Linked DNA regions of Homo sapiens: regions 2, 3 and 4 are each linked to region 1. The links are contacts of gene promoters, found by promoter capture Hi-C in blood cells and fetal thymus (Javierre and others, 2016). All regions are on one chromosome and are shown on one strand. The core of a region is centred on a gene start or on the middle of the fragment in contact, and the rest is flanking DNA. Distances in the headings are between cores, read along the strand shown. Region 1 holds the start of GBP7 (guanylate binding protein 7). Region 2 overlaps GBP5 (guanylate binding protein 5). Region 3 overlaps GBP1 (guanylate binding protein 1). Region 4 has its middle 25 kb from the start of GBP5.

Region 1 (4,939 bases), core at 481-2,980:
CAACGGGATTGCTTGGTCAAAAGATGAGAGTATATAATTTTGTAGATATTGCCAAGTTCCTCTCCAGAAAGTTGTACAAGGTTGCATTCCCACCAGCTCATCTTGTATGTCATTTTCTAGAAAATGGAATTTTTCCTAGGTGCCCCGCTTGCTCTTCTGAATTAATTACAAAATTTCCTTTGGAAGCTTTTCACGTTCACATTTAGATCTTTGGACTGAGCAAAGCTGAGCTCGCTGAGCTCATGTATATAGTAGTAGTAATCTTCACCTGGGAAACATTGTGTTATACATATCTCTATACTTTGAAACATAGATACCATTCTAACCCATTCTTGGTCCTGATTTCTTGCAAGCCCCTCTGTGGGCAGGGTCTGGTCAGACTGTGGGACTCAGGTTACCCAATGGCTTCCTCCTCTCACTGTGCATCAGCATTCACACGTTATTCATGCAAGCCTGATAGCTCGCACCTGACACTTACTCTGTTGATTTTTGACTTGATTATGTTAACAGATTTTGAATTCTCTGCATTTGAAGATTGATTCTTTATTACCTCCATGTATATCAGTCTGCATATTGTTTTTAATTATTTCATGTAATGAAGTCACAGCATGAAACATTCTTTGAAAAACCATGGCTTGTTTTTTGTCTGATCTCTGCTGTATAGAGAGTAGCATATGCACAATTGTAATCATGCTATCTTTATCCAGGGCTTGATAAATTAAATATTTTGATAATTTTGTAAAGTTAAAAGGAGTGAAAAGCCTTCTTGTAGTGATGCTTTAATTTTGTGTTTTTAAGTTGAATGTCTCAATCCTTGTAACTTATGTGATCATGATACAAAATATATAATCTCTTTAAGATACAAGCAAATATAGATGATAGATACTGCAGTTTTCTTTTTTATCCTATAATAAAGAGTGGTTTGTTTCCACTATAGAGTTGGTTACTTCTGACTTGTTCCTCTGGAGGTTTATATTAAATTATCTGGCTTCCCATCACTTCAGCAGAAGATGGAAAAAAAGCCGTTTATTTTTCTGTGATCATGACCCATTTCCTCTTATAGCAATGGCCTACAGGATCTGCTGGCAAGCAAGAAGGGCAAACCAGAAACTAAAAAGATTGGGTATCTATGGAAGATGAGTGAAAACAGAGTATGCGTCTGTCCAATTCTGTAGCATATACTATGCTACCATAACATAGGAATCAATCAGTCACCGGCTCAGAAAGGTGGTGGCACAAAGATGTTATAAGGTCCTGGATTATAATAATGTGTTGCCTCTTTTTGCAGATCCCAAGTTGCCTACCTTCATTTACCTAGAGCTATAAATGTTGGGCCCAATAAAGAAAGTGACAGAGCCTATTAGGCAGATATTTAAAGATAACAGTAATTTAAGATGGTGTCAGAAAAGAAATAACAATCTTAGAACACTGGCTTCTCTGAATATCTGTTCCACCTCTGCTGAAGCCTAATCTGACACAGCAGGAATTAGAGCACACTAAGGTACACACAGCCACCTAAGAGGCCAGGATTTCATCTGGACTTGTATCCTGTAGCTGGCTCAGCTGCAGCCTATCTTGGGGATGGTCAACTTAGAGAAAACTAATGGATCCTTATAAATCATGAAATCCTTATAAGTCATAGTCTTACCCAGAGTAGAGATCCTCTGGACTTGGTAAGAAGGCAGCTTCAATGAGAAAGTTATGAGTCTTTATTCTCTTCTCTTTAGTTCTGAATTTGGCTGCACTGATTTCTCCCACTTTTTTTCTTGCTGGAACTTTGGACTTTTACCTTACCTCTCCAATGTCATGGGGCTTTCCAGACTTTCTAGAGACCTGTATTTATACATGTAAAAAACAATGCAACCTCTGCAAATAAATAGAGTAATATGACAGTCCATGATTTAGCAACAATAAAAGAAATTGCTGACAGCTGTGCTAGTGAGAGGATTTGACATAATTTCTCAAACAGAATCTTCCAATTTTATTATTGGAAGAGATCTTAGAGACAGCTTGCGATTATTAAAAAAACTTCAATGAATCGTTTAAAATAATGACATTCATCTCATGTTTGTGGGCCACATTGAGAAGTACAGGAATAAGAAAGCTTAATATAATATTATTTAGGTTCAATTGGCTTGAATATTAGACTCTTAAAATGGAACTCATTATTTGTGTTTAATAATGAGGACTCTAAATGCCCTGAAGGAATGTCCACGTCTTATACATGTTTGAATTATTAGCACCTAACTCAGGTCTTGGCACTTAACATTTAATAAATAATAATGAAGATAGTACCCGTTTTGTTTACATAGATTATCCCATTGTATTCTTATCACAAATACTTTTACCACAATGTTAAAAGAGGGATTTAATAATTTATTACAATTACAGAGCTACTAAATAAGATTTGGGCCCAAGAAGTCTTGCTGTCAGTCACTTCATTAAAATACCTCTGTGTTTGCTGAGTGTACAATAACAATGTTTTCTCCTTATCAGTTCCATTCTAGGCCATATTCTTTACACATACCATTTTAAATATCAAAATACCTCAAGATAAAGGTTGTTTATTATCCCCATTGTCCAAGGGGGAAAAATAATCAGAAAACGGGTAATTAATATGTCTAACTAAAGCCATTGAGCTACACACCAAGGTAGCAAGTAATTGAGCGAGATTCAAACTTGAAAATCCATTTGGTTAAAACCACATTGATTCTCTACTGCACATTGTCTCTAAAAGAGAGGAAGGTGGGAAGCGGGGAAGAGAGAGAGAGAAATGGAGAGCAGAGAGTAAGACTTCTCTGTGTGTGTGTGAATATTGATGAGATTTAAAGTGAAAGTAAGGCAGGGTTATTTCAAAACAGAACTATTGCTAGGAAATCACCTGCTTCTAAGTAATAAAATCTATTGTTTATATCATGCAAACAAAAAATAGCCCCAGGCAAAATTGAATCTTTGTGAATCATGTATAATTTAAGGGTACATAAATTTATAAGAAAAAAAGATCCCACTTTCCCAACTTGTGTTTTTTTTTTTTGAGACAGAGTTTCTCTCTTGTTGCCCAGGCTGGAGTGCAATGGTACAATCTTCGCTCACTGCAACCTCCACCTCCTGGGTTCAAGCGATTCTCCTGTCTCAGCCTCCTGAGTAGCTAGGATTACAGGCATGAGCCACCAAGCCCGGCTAATTTTGTATTTTTAGTAGAGATGGAGTTTCTCTATGTTGGTCAGGCTGATGTCGAACTCCCAATCTCAGGTGATCCACCCGCCTCAGCCTCCCAAGGTGTTGGAATTACAGGTGTGAGCCACCATGCCAGACCCCAGCTTGTTTTTAGAGTGTTTCTTTAGAGACAAGTGGGCCAGAGTCCTTTCTTTAACCTTTTGAATACAAATAGAGCTTTCTAGGGGCTAAATATCAGTGCCAGCTTTACAACCCAGAGATGTCTTCAAGAGTCTGGGCTCCATGCCTTTTGAAATGGAAATATCCAGAAAGACAGAGACCCAGGCTTCCTGACACTTTGGGAGCTTAAGCCCGGTGCCTATCCTGTCTATAGCCATTTCTTCCAAGGGAGATAAATTTTAATATTCTTTTAGATAAGCAAATGGCTACCACATTTCCAAGGTGAGCATAGGATGAAGAATACAAGGAAGGTATAGCAAATTTGAGGATGTACCAGCAAATTGTGTTGTCAATTCTCTAATGGGAAAACAGGATGGCATTGATCCTAGGGAAACATGTTATATATAAACCAGCTAAAAATAGTGCAGTGTAAATGCTGGGCGAGGTGGCTCACACCTGTAATCCCAGCACTTTGGGAGACTGAGGTGGGTGGATCACTTGAGGTCAGGAGCTTGAGACCAGCCTGGTCAACACAGTGAAACCCCGACTCTGCAAAAATACAAAAAAATTAGCCAGGTGTGGTGGTACATGCCTGTACTCCCAGCTACTAGGGAAGCTGAAGCAGGAGAATCGCTTGAACCTGGGAGGCAGAGGTTGCAGTGAGCCGAGATAGCACCACTGCACTTCAGCCTGGGTGACAGACTGACAGTCTCTCTCAAAAAATTATTTTATAAAACATGAATAAGAAAAGACATTAAAATTAAAATTAAAATGACTAACAGTCACCATTATTACATGTAATTGAGACTACTAAAATAGTTTTACATGCAAATTGTATAAGAAGAATAGAATGTGTTTTTTTTTTTTTTGTAAAACGTTATAAGAAGGTATGGAAAAGTAAATTATTGCCTAGGGTTAAACAATTGTTTTAAATTAAGATAAAGCTAAAAGTTCAAATAAGTGGTGGAAGGTTTCTAAAAATCTTGCAAAAGAAATTCTCTGTGTGAACATATTGACTAAATTCAGAAAGGTATTATATTGTTTTTCTGTAAACTGAGCATTAAAAGTACAATAAGGTTTTCTTAAGGCACTAATTTGCTCTTCGGCAAAATTTGTAAAGGGTTATAAAAGGCTTTTGCTTCTTTAATATTTCTGAGTCAACCTTTTGGCAAAATACATCATTCATGGTAATCTGGAATTCTATTTCATAGTATCAAGTGTTTTAAACTCCGAACATATTTAACAGCCTTCCCAAAATCAAACTTCAGTTTCAAAATTGTCTTTCCCGATGCCTGGCTTTTTGGAAGGATCAGGGGGCCCCTGAATCACCCAGAGAAGAGGTAAACAGGATTATTTAACATGTTTAGGTACATAGTATTGCCAAAATGTTGTTCAATCTTTAGGTTATATTTTTGTGAATAATGCTAATATATGTCCCAAAATTGTATGAGATTTCTAAAATTTTTAATGTCTAAGTACATGCTGTCAATTATAATTATAGTTATTATATTAAGTTATAGTAGACCACATAAATAACCAAATTTCCTTGTATAAAGCTACTAATCTAAGTAGAACAAAAAAATTAATTGAATAACCAGGTTTT
Region 2 (4,446 bases), core at 1,288-3,787, 80 kb after region 1:
AAGACCCAGAATAGCCACAGCTATCCTGAGCAAAAAGAACAAAACTGGAGGAATCACATTACCTAACTTCAAATTACAGATCAATAGCAACCAAAACAGCATGGTAGTGGCATAAAAACAGACACATAGGCCGGGCGCGGTGGCCGACGCCTGTAATCCCAGCACTTTGGGAGGCCAAGGCGGGCGGATCATGAGGTCAGGAGATAGAGACCATCCTGGCTAACACGGTGAAAAACCGTCTCTACTAAAAAAATAAAAAATAAAAATTAGCCTGGCATGTTGGCGGGCGCCTGTAGTCCCAGCTACTGGGGAGGCTGAGGCAGAAGAATGGCGTGAACCCGGGAGGCGGAGCTTGCAGTGAGCTGAGTTCGCGCCACTGCACTCCAGCCTGGGCGACAGAGAGAGACTCGTCTGAAAAACAAAACAAAACAAAACAAAAACAAAAATAGACACATAGACCAGTGGAACAGAATAGAGAACCCAGAAAGAAATCCACACACCTTTAGTAAACTCATATTCAACAAAGATGTCAAGGACATACACCAAAGAAAAGACAATCTCTTCAATAATTTATGCTGGGAAAACTGGATATCCATATGCAAAAGAATGAAACTAGGCCCCTATCTCTTGACATATACAAAAATCAAATCGAAGTGGATTAAATACTTACATCTAAGACTTCAAACTATAAAACTACTACAAGAAACATTGGGGAAACTCTCCAGGACATTGGTCTGGGCAAAAATTGTTTGGGTAATACCCCTCAAGCACAGGGAACAAAAGCAAAAATGGGTAAATGGGATCATGTCAAGTTAAAAAGGTTCTGCACAGCAAAGGAATCCATAAACGAAGTGAAGACACAACATAGAGAATGCAAGAAGATACTTGCAAACTACCCATCTGACAAAGGATTAATAACTAGAAAATATAAGAAGCTTAAACAACTCTATAGGAAAAAATCTAATTATCCAATCAAAAAATGGGCAAAAGATTTGAATAGACATTTCTCAAAAAAGACATATGAATGGAAAACAGTCATATGAAAAGGTGCTCAACATCATGGATCATCAGAGAAATGCAAATCAAAACTACAATGACATCATCTCACTCCAGTTAAAATGGCTTATGTCCAAAAAACAGTCAGTAACAAATGCTGGCAAGGATGTGCAGGAAAGGAAGTCCTTGTACATTGTTGGTGGGATTGTAAATTCGTACAACCACTAAGGAGAACACTTTGGGGTTCTCAGAAAACTTAAAAATTAAGCTACTATATGATCCAGCAATCCCACTGCTGGGTATATACCCAAAAGAAAGAAATCAATATACCGAAGAGATATTCCCACTCCCATGTTTGTTGCATTGCTTTTCACAATAGCCAAGATTTGGAAGCAAGCCAAGTATCCATCGACACATGAATGCATAAAGAAAATGTGGTACTTTTACACAATGGAGTTCTATTCAGCCATAAAAATAATGAGATCCTGTCATCCGCAACAACTTGGATGGAACTGGAGATCATTATGTTAAGTGAAATAAGCCAAGCATATTAAAACAAACATTGCATGTTCTCACTTATTTGCAGGATCTAAAAATCAAACCAATTGAATTCATAACTGTAGAGAGTAGAGGATCTCTACCAGAGTCTGGGAAGTGTAGTGGGGCAGGGTGATAGGGGTGAGGTGAGGATGTTTAACGAGTACAAAAAATATAGTTAGAAAGAATGAATGAGACCTAATATTTAATAGCACAAAGGGAAGATTATAGTCAATAATAATTTAATTGTACTTCTTAAAATTACTGAAAGTGTATAATTGGATTGTTTGTAATACAAAGAGTAAATGCTTGAGTAGATAGATACCCCTTCTCCATCTGATCATTATGCACTGCATGTCTGTATCAAGGCATCTCATGTACCCCGTAAACATATACTCCTACTATGTACCCACAAAAATTAAAAATAATAAAAATTTAATAAATAAGAAAAGCTGGATATCCATTCTCTAAGACTTCAGTGTTACAGAGGGAATTTTATATATACATGCACAAGTGTATATGTTCGAGAATGTTCCGATCGGGCGCGGTGGCTCATACCTGTAATCCCAGCACTTTGGGGAGCCGAGGTGGGTGGATCACCTGAGGCCAGGAGTTCAAGACCTGCCTGTACAACATGGTGAGACGCTATCTCTACTAAAAATGCAAAAATTAGCCAGGCATAGTGGTGTGTGCCTGTAGTCCCAGCTAGTTGGGAGGCTGAGGCATGAGAATTGCTTGAACCTGGGAGGCAGAAGTTGCCTTGAGCCGAGATCATGCCACTTCACTCCAGCCTGGGTGATAGAGTGAGACTCTGTCTCATAAAAAAAAAAAAACAGAAAAAAAAAAGAATGTCCTTAATAACATTTCATAAGGTAAACCTGAAAATCCAGATATGTATTAATAGTAGAATGAATTGTTATCTTTAAACAGTAGAATATATATAGCTTACAACTACACACAATGAACTAGATGAATCTTATAAAGATTTTATTAACAAATGAAGCAAGGCATAAAAGAATACAAACAATGTAATTCCATTTAAATAAAGTTTGAAAACAGGCCAAACAAAATTACATTACTTAGGAGCTCACATGTTTATAATAAAATCCTAGAAAATAGTTGTGAAAGTTGTGATATTAGTTGGCTCTAGCAGGGTTGTCAGAAGTTGTCATATACACCTATAGAATTTTAGTAATGCTGAATGTATGTACCTGGGTTGTTACTTGTGCGTTCATCTTGTAATTTATTTATATTGAATATTGTACATTTTATGTTTTTTGTACTCTTCAGTATGTGTCACATTTAATAATTTTGAAAAACAGAGAATGGGATGTAACTAACTAAAATATTGCTTTGAAAGGGAACAAAGATTGTGTTGAAACTGACTGAGACATGGGGTCAAGAGAGATTTCAAGAGTTTTGAGTCACATTTAGAAAGGCCCTCTCCTCTACAGGTTTATGAAGAACATAACCTTGATTTCTTCAAATGCATTTTCATAGTTTTACATTTTATATTTTATCAATTTGGGTGTGGTTCCTTTTTCTTATTTTAGTGTATTGTGTGTGAGGTCTGGTTACAACTTGATCTTTTCCTATATGGCCATCCAGTAGTCCCAACCTACTAAGAAGTCTATCTTTACCCTGTATTATTCCTATAAAGTCTATTTTTTGGACTTTCTATTCTGTTGGTGATCGTTATACACTAGAGTCATTACCACATTTTCTCTACTTCATTTTAGAAATTTCTTTACCTGCTTATTTTGTGCTGAATTCTTATACATTGTTTTGAATCTATGCTTTTGATTTCAATTATTTTAGTAATTCCTTCTAAATTTTAACACATTATTCAGTATTTCTATGTTTTCCTAAGTATATTAGTCCATTTTCATACTGCTATGAAGAAATACTCAAGACTGGGTAATTTATAAAGGAAAAGAGATGTAATGGACTTGTAGTTTCACATGGGTGGGGAGGCCTCACAACCACAGCAGAAGATGAAAGAGGAACAAAGGCACATCTTACATGGTGTCAGGCAAGAGAGCATGTGCAGGGGAATTGCCCTTTATGAAGCCATCAGATCTCAGGCGACTTATTCACTATCATGAAAAAAGCACATGAAAACCCACCCCCATGATTTGATTACCTCCCACCTGGTCCCTCCCACAACACGTGGGCATTATGGGAGCCATAATTCAAGATGAGATTTGAGTGGACACAGCCAAACCGTATCACTAAGCAAGATAAGAAAGTACCACAAGATGGTTATTAATGTGGGTTCTAAATTCAAAAGGCCTTCTGTGGTACTGACCTTAATTTATTTAATTTCAATGCTTTAACAATAATAACTTTAATAATGATAACACTAACATACATTGATAATATTGTTTAAAATAACAATTGCCATAAAACAATACTAAATGTTTATAAGGTTTTTATGAGCAACAGGTGAATTACTACAGTGACCATAATAAAGTGATCCATAATAAATTCCAAATATCTCTTAGCTGGTATGAATAACTATTCATAGTATTAACTAATAAAGATTTTGTACTTGTTTCCTATTGCTGCTATAACAAATTATTACTAATTTTGTGGCTTAAAACAACAGAAGCTTATTATCTTACAGTTTTGGAAATCAGAAGTCTGTGAAGCTTAAATCAAGATGTTAACAAGGCTGCATTCCATCTGCAGGCTCTAGGGGAGAATCTATTGCTTTGCTTTTCATTACATTTAAAACTAGATCAGTTGATTTCACAACAGTAAGACAAAGAAAGTCAGAAAATATAAGCTACTTACTGGTAGTTTCAAGAAATCATCAATGTTTACCTTACAGTGCCTTTTCTTGTTCTTTTGCACCCAGTGACAGATCTCTAACCTGTGAGATCAGAGTATTTGGGGATGAGTGGGATCCAG
Region 3 (5,008 bases), core at 271-2,770, 120 kb before region 1:
GAGGCCATCTAATCTCTTAACTCACTCCTCACCTTCAATCTCCTTTTCTTTTTCTGTGAGAGTCTGGTCTGTCTGGAGAATTGCATCAGTCATAGACTCCTTGGATTTCAAGTATGTCTGCAGAATCTCTTCAGCCTTAGGACCCAGAGAACACAGAGTGAGAAGTAGGAAATGGCTGTAAGCAGGTGTTCCTGTTTGTCTTCCTGCCATCCTTTCTCCTCTGGGAATTCTTTCTCTTGGCCCTATTGTCCTTGGTGGTCAAATTCCCTGTCGGAGCGACAGACACATGCTCCTGGCAAGCCGATCAGAACATCCTACTTAGCAGTCATTTTTAGTAGGCTAATATAGATACTGGGAAAAGGAGAGTCTCTGTCCTGTTTAGATTAAGGGCTCTAAGTTTGGAACTGTTAATGCTGTGGTCCCATATGGGCTGAGCCTGCTGGGGAATGAAGCCATCATTGAGAAAGCAAATATCAGAGTGACTCAGATAGAGGGATGGTGGGAGGGAGAAAACTGTGGGGATGGGGGAACACTGGACAGAGAGCCAGTTCATGATGTTACTTGAAACCTTAGACCCACCTGACCTGTAAAGCCAGTTTGCAGCCTAAATCAATGAATTACATTTTTGTTTAAGCAGCCATCATTGGGTTCCTGTCTCTTGCAACAGGAAAAGCCCAGCTGTAATGATGACAATAATAACTTTGTGCTTCATCTGCTAATTGAATTTATAACTTAATAGTTAATTGACTGCACTCTCTTTGATGAGCACCTAGGACATATCTGGTATAACAGCCTGTTTGCATATGTTATTGAATAAAAGCATGAATGTTATGCAAACAAAAAAGCACATCTGTATGCAGTGAAGCTTGGTCACCTTGGTGTTTGTAGGAGGCAGGTCAGCAGCTTTCCATAATTGACAGATAAATCTTGGTTACCTGTATCCCCTTCCTCGGTTCCTCATAGTACTTTTTCTTCAGGTCTTGTAGCTTCTGAACAAAGAGACGATAGCCCCCTGGTTTCGAATAAATTCCCGCCTTCACTTCTTCTTCTAGAGGACTGAAAATGACCTGAAGTAAAGCTGAGCAACGATCTGATGATGCTTCCTGATTCTGTTTACAAAAGTCATCCCGCTTTTTTTCTAGCTGGGCCTTTAATGTAAAAATAGGAAGTAAAAAGAGTAACAGGGAAAGGATGTTAGCTTGACCTCAGAATTTTGGGAACGATTTCTGAAAATAGAAGTCAATGATGCTGGAGAAACTGACAGCCTCCTCACCAGGACCACACTCTTCCTTCTGACCCCACTTTCTGCTGAAGTCGCTTTCTTTTTGGAGGTGAGGTTCAGGGCTGAGATTGATAGCTTTATGTCAACTGTTAGAGGAAAACTCTGTTTTTGCATATTGGACTAATGATTTCATATGGAATAAATGTGGCTGAACGGAAGCCTGCTCAAGATAAGTAGGATGAAAATTTTCTTTGTGTTTGGCTAGAATATCAAATCAGTCTGAGAAGAGTGGGCAGGTAATTTTATTAGAAGCTCTGGTTGTCAGTTGTATGCATAAGTAAAGGGAAAATTATTCAGGAAAAAATGTTTTAGAACTTTGGGTCTGTAATAATACAGTTGGTCCTTCTGACTGATGTGATCACAAATCTGTTGTTTTCACCATTATGGAAGCTAGGAGGAATTACTTCCGTCAAAATAAATAATAGTTTTCTTTCCTTGTGGTACTTTAGCTTCTATGACCCTAAACCGTATACATTTGAGACAAAAATTACCGCTAACTCCTTTTGAAATAGATGGTCCACATCTTTGAAGGAACTCCTGATGAAGACTTCAATGGCCTCTCTCTCACTGTCCCTGTGCAGGTCCAGCAGCTCCTGGAGGGTTTCTGTGGGCAGCTGCACCTTCTGGCCCATCTGCTGTTCATAGTGGGCAATAGCCTTTTGCACTGCAGCTGAGTTCTCTATCTGGGCCAAGGCCAGGACTGCGTTCTCCATGCACGGCAGATCCCCACTGCTGATGGCATTGACGTAGGTCAGCACCAGGCTCTCTAGACCTGCATATGAAGAACAAATGATAATGTTTCTGGTGGTAAAGAAAGTCTCTATTCCATGTAATTCTGAGCATGTCAAATACCACCTATTTTCCTCACAGCATCAATGTCCTCAGCATCACTTGGAAGCTTGCTGGAAATAGACTCTCAGACCCTGTCCGAGATCTATTGAATTAGACTTTTGTGTTTGGTAAGATCCTCAGAAGATATGTATGCATACCAACATTTGAGAGTTCTTGTACTAGATTACATAGACTTGTGTTAATTGAATGTTTGCATCCATTTTAACCCCAACCAACATTAGGACAGGAACCATATCTATTTCATTTATATCTGTATCTTCAGTCTATTCATAGTAAGCATTTGATCAATATGTATGAAACAAATGACACTATTCCAATAAAAAAGAGTCATCCATTTAGTTTATTTTATTGCAGTATTGTTCAAAAGCGCTTTCTGTAATGCTGGGAATGTTGTATATGTGCTTTTCAGTGTGCTAGTCACTAAGTACGTGTAAATATTAGTCCTTGAAATACAGGCATGTGAATTGACTTTTAAATTTTCCCTATTTAAATTATTTACATTTATGTTTACATAGACACACTTGTCTAGGGGCTACTCTATTGCATAGTGCAGGTCCAGTTCACTAGGGCAATTTCAAGCAATAGAACTTTTTTCCTTTGGCCTTTTCCTAGACTGGAAATGTGACTAACAATATATGTTAGAAACATTGGTGCCATCTAGAATTTAACACAAATATAGCAGTAGATTGGGATTTTTCAATGCTGAAACTAGGTGGAAGTTATTCTATGCTCCTCTAGTCTTAAACAATGAGCAGAAGTACTAGGAAGGGGACTTACGAGGCCCGTTGACCTGGATGCCTCCTGAAAGAGTTTTAGTTTTGGAATTACTAAAGATGTAGGAACAGAAGTCTGCTACTTGTTGCACAAATTCGGGGTCCAGCTCTTCATCTTGTAGTTTCTCGAGCTGGGCAAGCTTCCTGCGGTGAACGGGCCGATCAAAGACAAAGCATTTTTTCTTTGGGAAGAATTTCCGGATACAGAGTCTGGGCAGGTTAAAAGTTTCATCTTTTTGACTGGTACCTAGAAAAACATTTAAAAAATTATAAAATTGCCTAATATAAGTGTTTCTGTAAAGGGCCAAATAGTAAATATTTTAGGCTCTTCAGGCTGGATGGTCTCTTTTCCAAGTATTCAACTCTGTTATTGAAGCATGACAACAGCTTTAGACAATATGTAAATGAATGGGCATAGCATTATTCCAAAAAAACCTTATTTACAAAGACAGCTGGCAGGCAGGATTTGCCATGATTTGTCTTGGGCTGTAGTTTGCCAATGCTTGGACTAGCACACGGTTCATGTTTTAGTCTATGTTCTTTAAATAAATATCCATTGTACTCCATACTCTATGGCTAAGTAGAAGATCACAAACCCTAGGCAGGGAGATAAAATTAACCTAATCACAGCATACACAAAGGTGAAAGAACAAGAAACTTGTTCTAGAACAATGACAAATGTAATTTAAAATAACATCTATTAATTTGGATATTCAGCAAGTATTAATTTCTAGGAATAGCCAGCTGAAGACATAGAAAACTGCAAATGCTGGAAAACTAGCAATAGTAAACTGAAAAATGATAATTTCTTGTGTTTTCTCATCCTCATTTATCAGTTGAAGCTCTCTGTTACCTTTCTTCAGCTTCAGGGAGTATGTCAGGTACTCATCTGGTGTGAGGGGTTGTCCATCTGCTTCCAAGTCCAGGGAGAAATCTCTCAGTGTCCACACAAAGTCTGGGAAGAAGCTCACAAAGTCAGCTGAATCCTCAACCTCATTCTCATTCTCATCAGGTGAGGATTTTGATCGGATTCTATGTGTCAGCTCTGTCACATAGCTGAGTAGCTAACTAAGGAAATGTGACAAAATGAACAGGGACCTCATCCCATGTTAGTTCAACACATACCCAAACCTTCCATTTTCCTTTGCTCCTAACCTAAGTGTCAGTGTCAGTTCTAAAGTGGATACATGGGATCTCTCCTCTGTACTTGCATTATTTTTTGTTTTCTCCTTTTGAGCTTGATTCATCAGGATTCACAGTCAGGCAGCTGGTGTATGAATACAGGTGTCCCCTCTGACCTTGGTGCTGTTCTGGGTCACAAAAGGATACTACAGTTGGTCCATAGCCTGCTGGTTGATGGTTCCTATGCTATTGTACACGAAGGTGCTGCTCAGGAGGACGGCCAGGGCGAAGATCCAGGAGTCATTCTGGTTGTCACCCTGGAAGTCAAGACACACTGGAGTCAGGAGCAAGTTTCATCATCGCAGCACTTTTCAGAGTAACAGTAGTAAAACTATGTTCATATGTTAGAGGGTTTTTTTTTCTTTTCTTTTTTTTTTTTTTTTTTAACACTAATGACCTATTAAAGGAAGACAAATACAAAAATTATTCTCAGTAGGATGTGGCTTTTGGGTAGTTTTTCGACGAGTGTTTTTGGGTTACCATGATTCTTACTAGGTCTTCTAATGATCATCAACAGATAATTGTAAAATTAAAATTCAAGGTTGGTGGGCATTTTAAGGCCTGAGTACAATGTAAATTTAAAATTTTCTCTTCTTTTTTTCAATAACAGAATTCACATATAAGATTGGTACTATTAGTTGCTATTTTATTGAATAATTAATATACACCTGTAATGTATTATCTTATTAAATATTCAAAATAATACTATATGGCCAACATAGGTCTTTTCCATACATTTTAAAGATTAGAATGCTGAGGCGAAAATAAGTCAATTTTCTCAGGCTACTGAATTAGTGACAGAATTTAAATTTAAATACAAAGTCACATGGCTTTAGCACCCAAATTCTTAACTAAAGTTCTGTGCAGGATAAGACTTATGACACTGGGATTATTTGTGCTCCCTTTATGCATCTGTGTT
Region 4 (4,865 bases), core at 848-3,347, 120 kb after region 1:
GATGTTTGCAGCAGGAATATATCCTGGTTTGACTGGGAAAGTGAGAGGAAGCTATCAACACTTCCAGATAAGAAAAAAGAGAATTCTCTCTATGCTGTGTGCTTGTTCAGGCAGGCTATCTTCACCTGGAGACAACTGCCACTAGATTAGCTGTCAGTTCCCTGCATTTCTGAGTGTGCATATCTGCTAATTTTAGGTCAGTGTGGGCCTATCTTAGGATCTTTGTGTGGTAGGAGGGTTTCCGGTTTTAGGAAACACACTACCACAAAAAGATAACCTTGGCAAAGATAACCAATTGCTGCTTATATTAGATAACCCTAGTTAGAATATCCACCTGGTAAACCTGGGAACCCCATTTAATATTGGCTCCATGAGATCATCTGGAGTAATTCAAAACAGCACAAACCCTGGGAAAGTTATTTATATTTTATAAATAACTTTATAAAATAACAGTATTTTATAAATAACTTTATAAAATAACAGTATTTTATAAATAACTTTATAAAATAACAGTATTTTATAAATAACTTTATAAAATAACAGTATTTTATAAATGCTTGAGTTACCAGAATCTTAACAGAACTCTCCAAAGACACACTGTGAACAGAACTTAGAGGCCATGAATAAACCATTAAAAAAAAAACAGTTATTTAGGTTTGAATATAATACATGACAACGATGTCCTCTCTATGCCTTTGCTTTAATTTTCACCCATCCTATCCTGAAGTACCATGGCATTGCCCAGAAAGCACTGCCTAGATCCAGGCCAGACTCATCTCAAGCTTCAGAGTCTTCTGATCCTGCTCTCTCAGTAGGTTTTCCTTTTCTTTCACTCCTTTCTCAGTTGGGCTTTGATTTCCACAAAGCTCCTCTCTTGAGCCTCCAAGTTTTGCTGCTGTTCTTTACACCTTTGCTTGAGAAGCATTTTTTTCCTTTTCAGGTGATTTTTTTTTTTTTTTTTTGGCTCGCTTTGCTGATCCGTGAAGGTTTTTGAGAGGGAAGAAAAAGAACAGTCAGACGTGAGTGCCATACATCCCTTCTCAGATATCAAACTGCTGTTGAAAAGGCAGATGGGAAATATTTGAATTCATCCAGTGGCCATACAATAAGAGCAAACTTCAGAATGTGATGGGCAAGACACAGCTGTCTGGCTGACGCTCTACCACAACTCTGTTGTTATTTTCACATTTAGGAAGCTCCTTGTTTCAGAAAATCCTCCCATCAGATCTCTCAAACAGCCCTGCAGGAAACTACCCACCCTGATGGAAGCTGAGACCTGCCCCTGTACCTTGCAAGGCCTTGGATTTCCACAGGTTGGATTCTATCCACATCTGCTACAACCACAGCAAGCGCTGGAGAGCTCAATTATTTTGAGGAACCAAGAAAAGGCCAAGACACATCACGCAGGTCAAACTTAAACTTCCAATGAAATACTCTGAGGAGAAATTCTGTTCCAATTAATGTTTCCTTATTCTTTGCCTGCCCACACAAGTTTTCAAGATCTTGCTTGTATTGCTCCCCCTCCAACCTCCCCTGCCAATGTTGCTTCTCCCCATCAATGCTAGGTTCCACCACTTAGAAAAATGCGTACCTTTATAAATGCATAACTTCTGGTGCTTTCATATTTTCACATGTTTTTTTCTGCCTATGGGTCTTCTCTTTAGAAGTTAAAGAGGCAGAAAAACATCTGCAGCTAGATTAGCTGTCAGTTCCCTGCATTTCTGAGTGTGCATATCTGCTAAATCTAGGTCAGGATCTCCGTATGGTGGTAGGGTTCCCGTTTTTAGGAAACATACTACCACACAAAGATAACCTTAAAATAACCAATTGCTGCTTATATTTAACCCTAGTTACAATATCTACATGGTAAACCTGGGAATCCCATTTAATATGGCTCCATGAGATAATCTGGAATAATTCAAAGTAGCAGCACAAACCCTGGGAAAGAAAAAGCATCTAAACTTGGAGAGCATGAACACATTCTTCAAAATTTACATCACACTCCTCTTTCAGGAAGTTTTCCTAGCCTGCCTTCCCTTCAAGAATTGAATGTGCACTTTAAATAGGTAAAATATATAGTGTGTAAATTAGATTTCAACCAAGTCATTAAAATAAAGCAAAATCTAACAAAAATAAATTCGAATCACTCCCAACTTGGAAAAGTGCTCTCTATAAGACTATTGATATGTTTCTTACTTCCTTGGGCCTCCCTGTGTAATGTTGATTTTACAGCACATAATCTCTATGGTATCTTGCTGCTGGAACATCCTGGGAATCCACCTACAGGATAAATAACAGTGGTGTTATGGTCCGAAGGTTAGTGTCCCCTAAAATTTATATGTTAGGACCAAATATTCAATGTGATAGTATTAAGAGGCAGGGCTTTTAGAAAGTGATTTGAATGGGATTAATGCACTTATAAAAGAGGTTGAAAGGAGTGACCCTTCTCCTTCCATCATGTGCAGATACAGCAACAAGGCACCATCTTTGAAGCCAAGAGCAGCTCTCACCAGCCACCAAATCTGCCAGCACTCTGTCTTGGATGGCCCAGCCTCTAGAACTGTAAGAAACAAATTTCTGTTTACAATTTACCTGGTCTAAGGTATTTTGTTATAGCAGCCAGAATGGACTAAGACAAGTGATATAACTAAAAGCAAAATAAATATAAAGAAAGACTAGGCCAGGTGCAGTGGCTCACACCTGTAATCCCAGCACTTTGGGAGACTCAGGTGGGTGGATCATTTGAGGTCAGGAGTTCGAGTCCAGCCTGGTCAACATGGTGAAACCCCACCTCTACTGAAAATACAAAAATTAGCTGGGCGTGGTTGTGGGCACCTGTAGTCTCAGCTACTTGGTAGGCTGAGGCAGGAGAATTGCTTGAACCCGGGGGGTGGAGGTTGCAGTGAGCTGAGATCACACCACTGCACTCCAGCCTGGGTGACAGAGTGAGACTCTGTCTCAAAAAAAAAAAAAAATGACTTGGTAAGAAAATCTTCCCAGAGAAACTTGGGTTGCTATGAATGGAAAAGAGTCCACAGAAAACATGACAAATTCAAAATAACTAAAATTACAAGCACATAAGGTGACTTTTCAAGTATTCACTAAAGGAGGATATAAGAAGGTCAGTCCTGAATTTGCTTCAGAAGTCAGACAGATTTCCAGATAAAAATTATCTGGAATTTATAGAGAACTGTGTTACTCTATTTTATCTCCAAGTTTGGAGGAGAAAGAGATAAAATAGAGTAATACAGTTCTCTATAAATTCCTTACTCAGAAGAATCTCCTATGAATGATAGGTAATCTTATTGCCTATAAAGTGGCCACTAGCTATTATTCTAAAATTAAGGTAACAGAGCCAACTACTAAGACAAAGTATCATGAAATGCTTGTCATACTAGAAGGATGCTATATGAAAGCTTTGAAATGAGCCAGGTAAGGCATCTGCAGGACTTGTCTGTGAGAACATCACTCTGTAGGGCCAGTGTGTTCTCACTCTGAGTCAGAGGTGTTTCTGCATTTTCCAAATAATGAAACCATTCCACTGTTGATGATATTCACATAAGTCACTACCAGAATCCCCAGCCCTGAAAGAGGCAGGAAATTTGGGACATCAATGGGATTCAAATATTGGGACTACAGTTCTAAAATCACAAGCAAACTCTACACAGTGTGAATACCGTCATAAGTCCTATCTTTTCTTACTAAATTCACCTTTATCTTCCTATTCACTCTTGTGTGTTTCTCAGGTCACTGTATTTAAACAATTAATTATTTTTTTCTTTAGTTAATATGCTTGAGATATCCTGGAAAAACAATTTCCTGGTGAAGCATATTACAAACAAACTAGACTAGAGAGGTGAATACGTAGGCAGGGTAAATTAGATTATTTGTCCTGTTAAAATTCCACTTATGAATTATTCGAAATTTAGTTTGAATTAAGATATATCCATATCCATATTTCACATTCTTAGTGAAGAGGGCACTTATCATATCCAACATCTCTTCTTGGAAATTATGGTAGCCTTCATGTTATGTTTACATAATCTTGCTATAAAAATAGAGATATAGAGAACCATTTAAATATATTGAGAGTCAAGTATTTGCTTGTAGACCCATGGAATAATTGTACTGTTAACACTCAACTGTATGAAATGAAACTTTTATTTTGAATGTAAATGGAGAGCTCCATATGTATAGAACACATATGACCGGGCACAGTGGCTCACACCTGTAATCCCAGCACTTTAGGAGGCCGAGGCGAGTGGATTGCCTGAGCCCAGGAGTTCGAGACCAGCGTGGGCAACATGGCAAAACAAAGTCTCTACTAAAAATATAAAAATTAGCCAGGCTTGGTGGCGCATGCCTGTAATCCCAGCTACTCAGTAGGCTGAGGCAGGAGAATCACTTGAATCCGGGAGACAGAGGCTGCAGTGAGCTGACAATAGAGTGGAAAAAAAAAAAAGAAAGGAAGAAAACCACATATATGGCAGAATATCACCACGGGTGAATTTTAATTTATTAATTTATTTTATTTCACTTTTAGTTGTATGACTTGTCTTAGTCTATTCTGACTGCTCCAACAAAATACCTTAGAGTGGATAAATTATAAACAATGAGTGTACTTGCTCCACAGCACTGCAGGTGACTGTGCTCAGTACTAACTAGTTCTCCGTAGCTGCCAACTCACCCTTGCTCTGTTTCCTCCCTCTAAGGTTTTGCTTCTAATTTATAAACACTGAAAACAAACTAAGAATGTTAATCATTCCCAGAAAGGAAATGGAGTGAAAACTGAAGCTGAAAGTAAAATTAGCTCGTGGGGTTTTTAAATATTTAGAAAAGGCATGCTGAGTTAATATCTAGAACAT

What was found. Contacts are between HindIII fragments. The CHiCAGO score rates a contact against its expected background, and 5 or more counts as called.
Region 2: a contact is called between a fragment that was not itself captured here and the fragment with the promoter of GBP7 in region 1, in 1 of 17 cell types (activated CD4 T cells). The highest score is 6.0, in activated CD4 T cells.
Region 3: a fragment that was not itself captured here is called in contact with the fragment with the promoter of GBP7 in region 1 in 1 of 17 cell types (activated CD4 T cells); the score reaches 5.2 in activated CD4 T cells.
Region 4: a contact is called between a fragment that was not itself captured here and the fragment with the promoter of GBP7 in region 1, in 1 of 17 cell types (activated CD4 T cells). The highest score is 5.2, in activated CD4 T cells.

What each region holds. Positions count from the first base shown.
Region 1 is chr1:89,174,273-89,179,211 of GRCh38, forward strand. It overlaps GBP7 (guanylate binding protein 7), which reads right to left and starts at 1,731. Exons shown (of 11, transcript NM_207398.3): 1 at 1,649-1,731. The region is part of intron 3 of LOC105378842 (a long non-coding RNA gene); the gene reads left to right. The HindIII fragment of the contact is 1,918 bases long and covers 185-2,102 here.
Region 2 is chr1:89,253,690-89,258,135 of GRCh38, forward strand. GBP5 (guanylate binding protein 5) reads right to left here. Exons shown (of 12, transcript NM_052942.5): 12 at 2,500-4,446. It also overlaps the pseudogene LOC100421401. Among named protein-coding and RNA genes, the nearest start is that of GBP5, 17 kb to the right of the region's middle. The HindIII fragment of the contact is 3,209 bases long and covers 934-4,142 here.
Region 3 is chr1:89,055,081-89,060,088 of GRCh38, forward strand. GBP1 (guanylate binding protein 1) reads right to left here. Exons shown (of 11, transcript NM_002053.3): 4 at 4,237-4,346; 5 at 3,761-3,963; 6 at 2,912-3,154; 7 at 1,774-2,054; 8 at 936-1,148; 9 at 33-135. All of the region lies in intron 2 of LOC105378841 (a long non-coding RNA gene), which reads left to right. Among named protein-coding and RNA genes, the nearest start is that of GBP1, 7.6 kb to the right of the region's middle. RefSeq lists an enhancer at 1,063-2,262. The HindIII fragment of the contact is 1,315 bases long and covers 864-2,178 here.
Region 4 is chr1:89,295,184-89,300,048 of GRCh38, forward strand. It overlaps the pseudogene LOC100421401. Among named protein-coding and RNA genes, the nearest start is that of GBP5, 25 kb to the left of the region's middle. The HindIII fragment of the contact is 2,634 bases long and covers 781-3,414 here.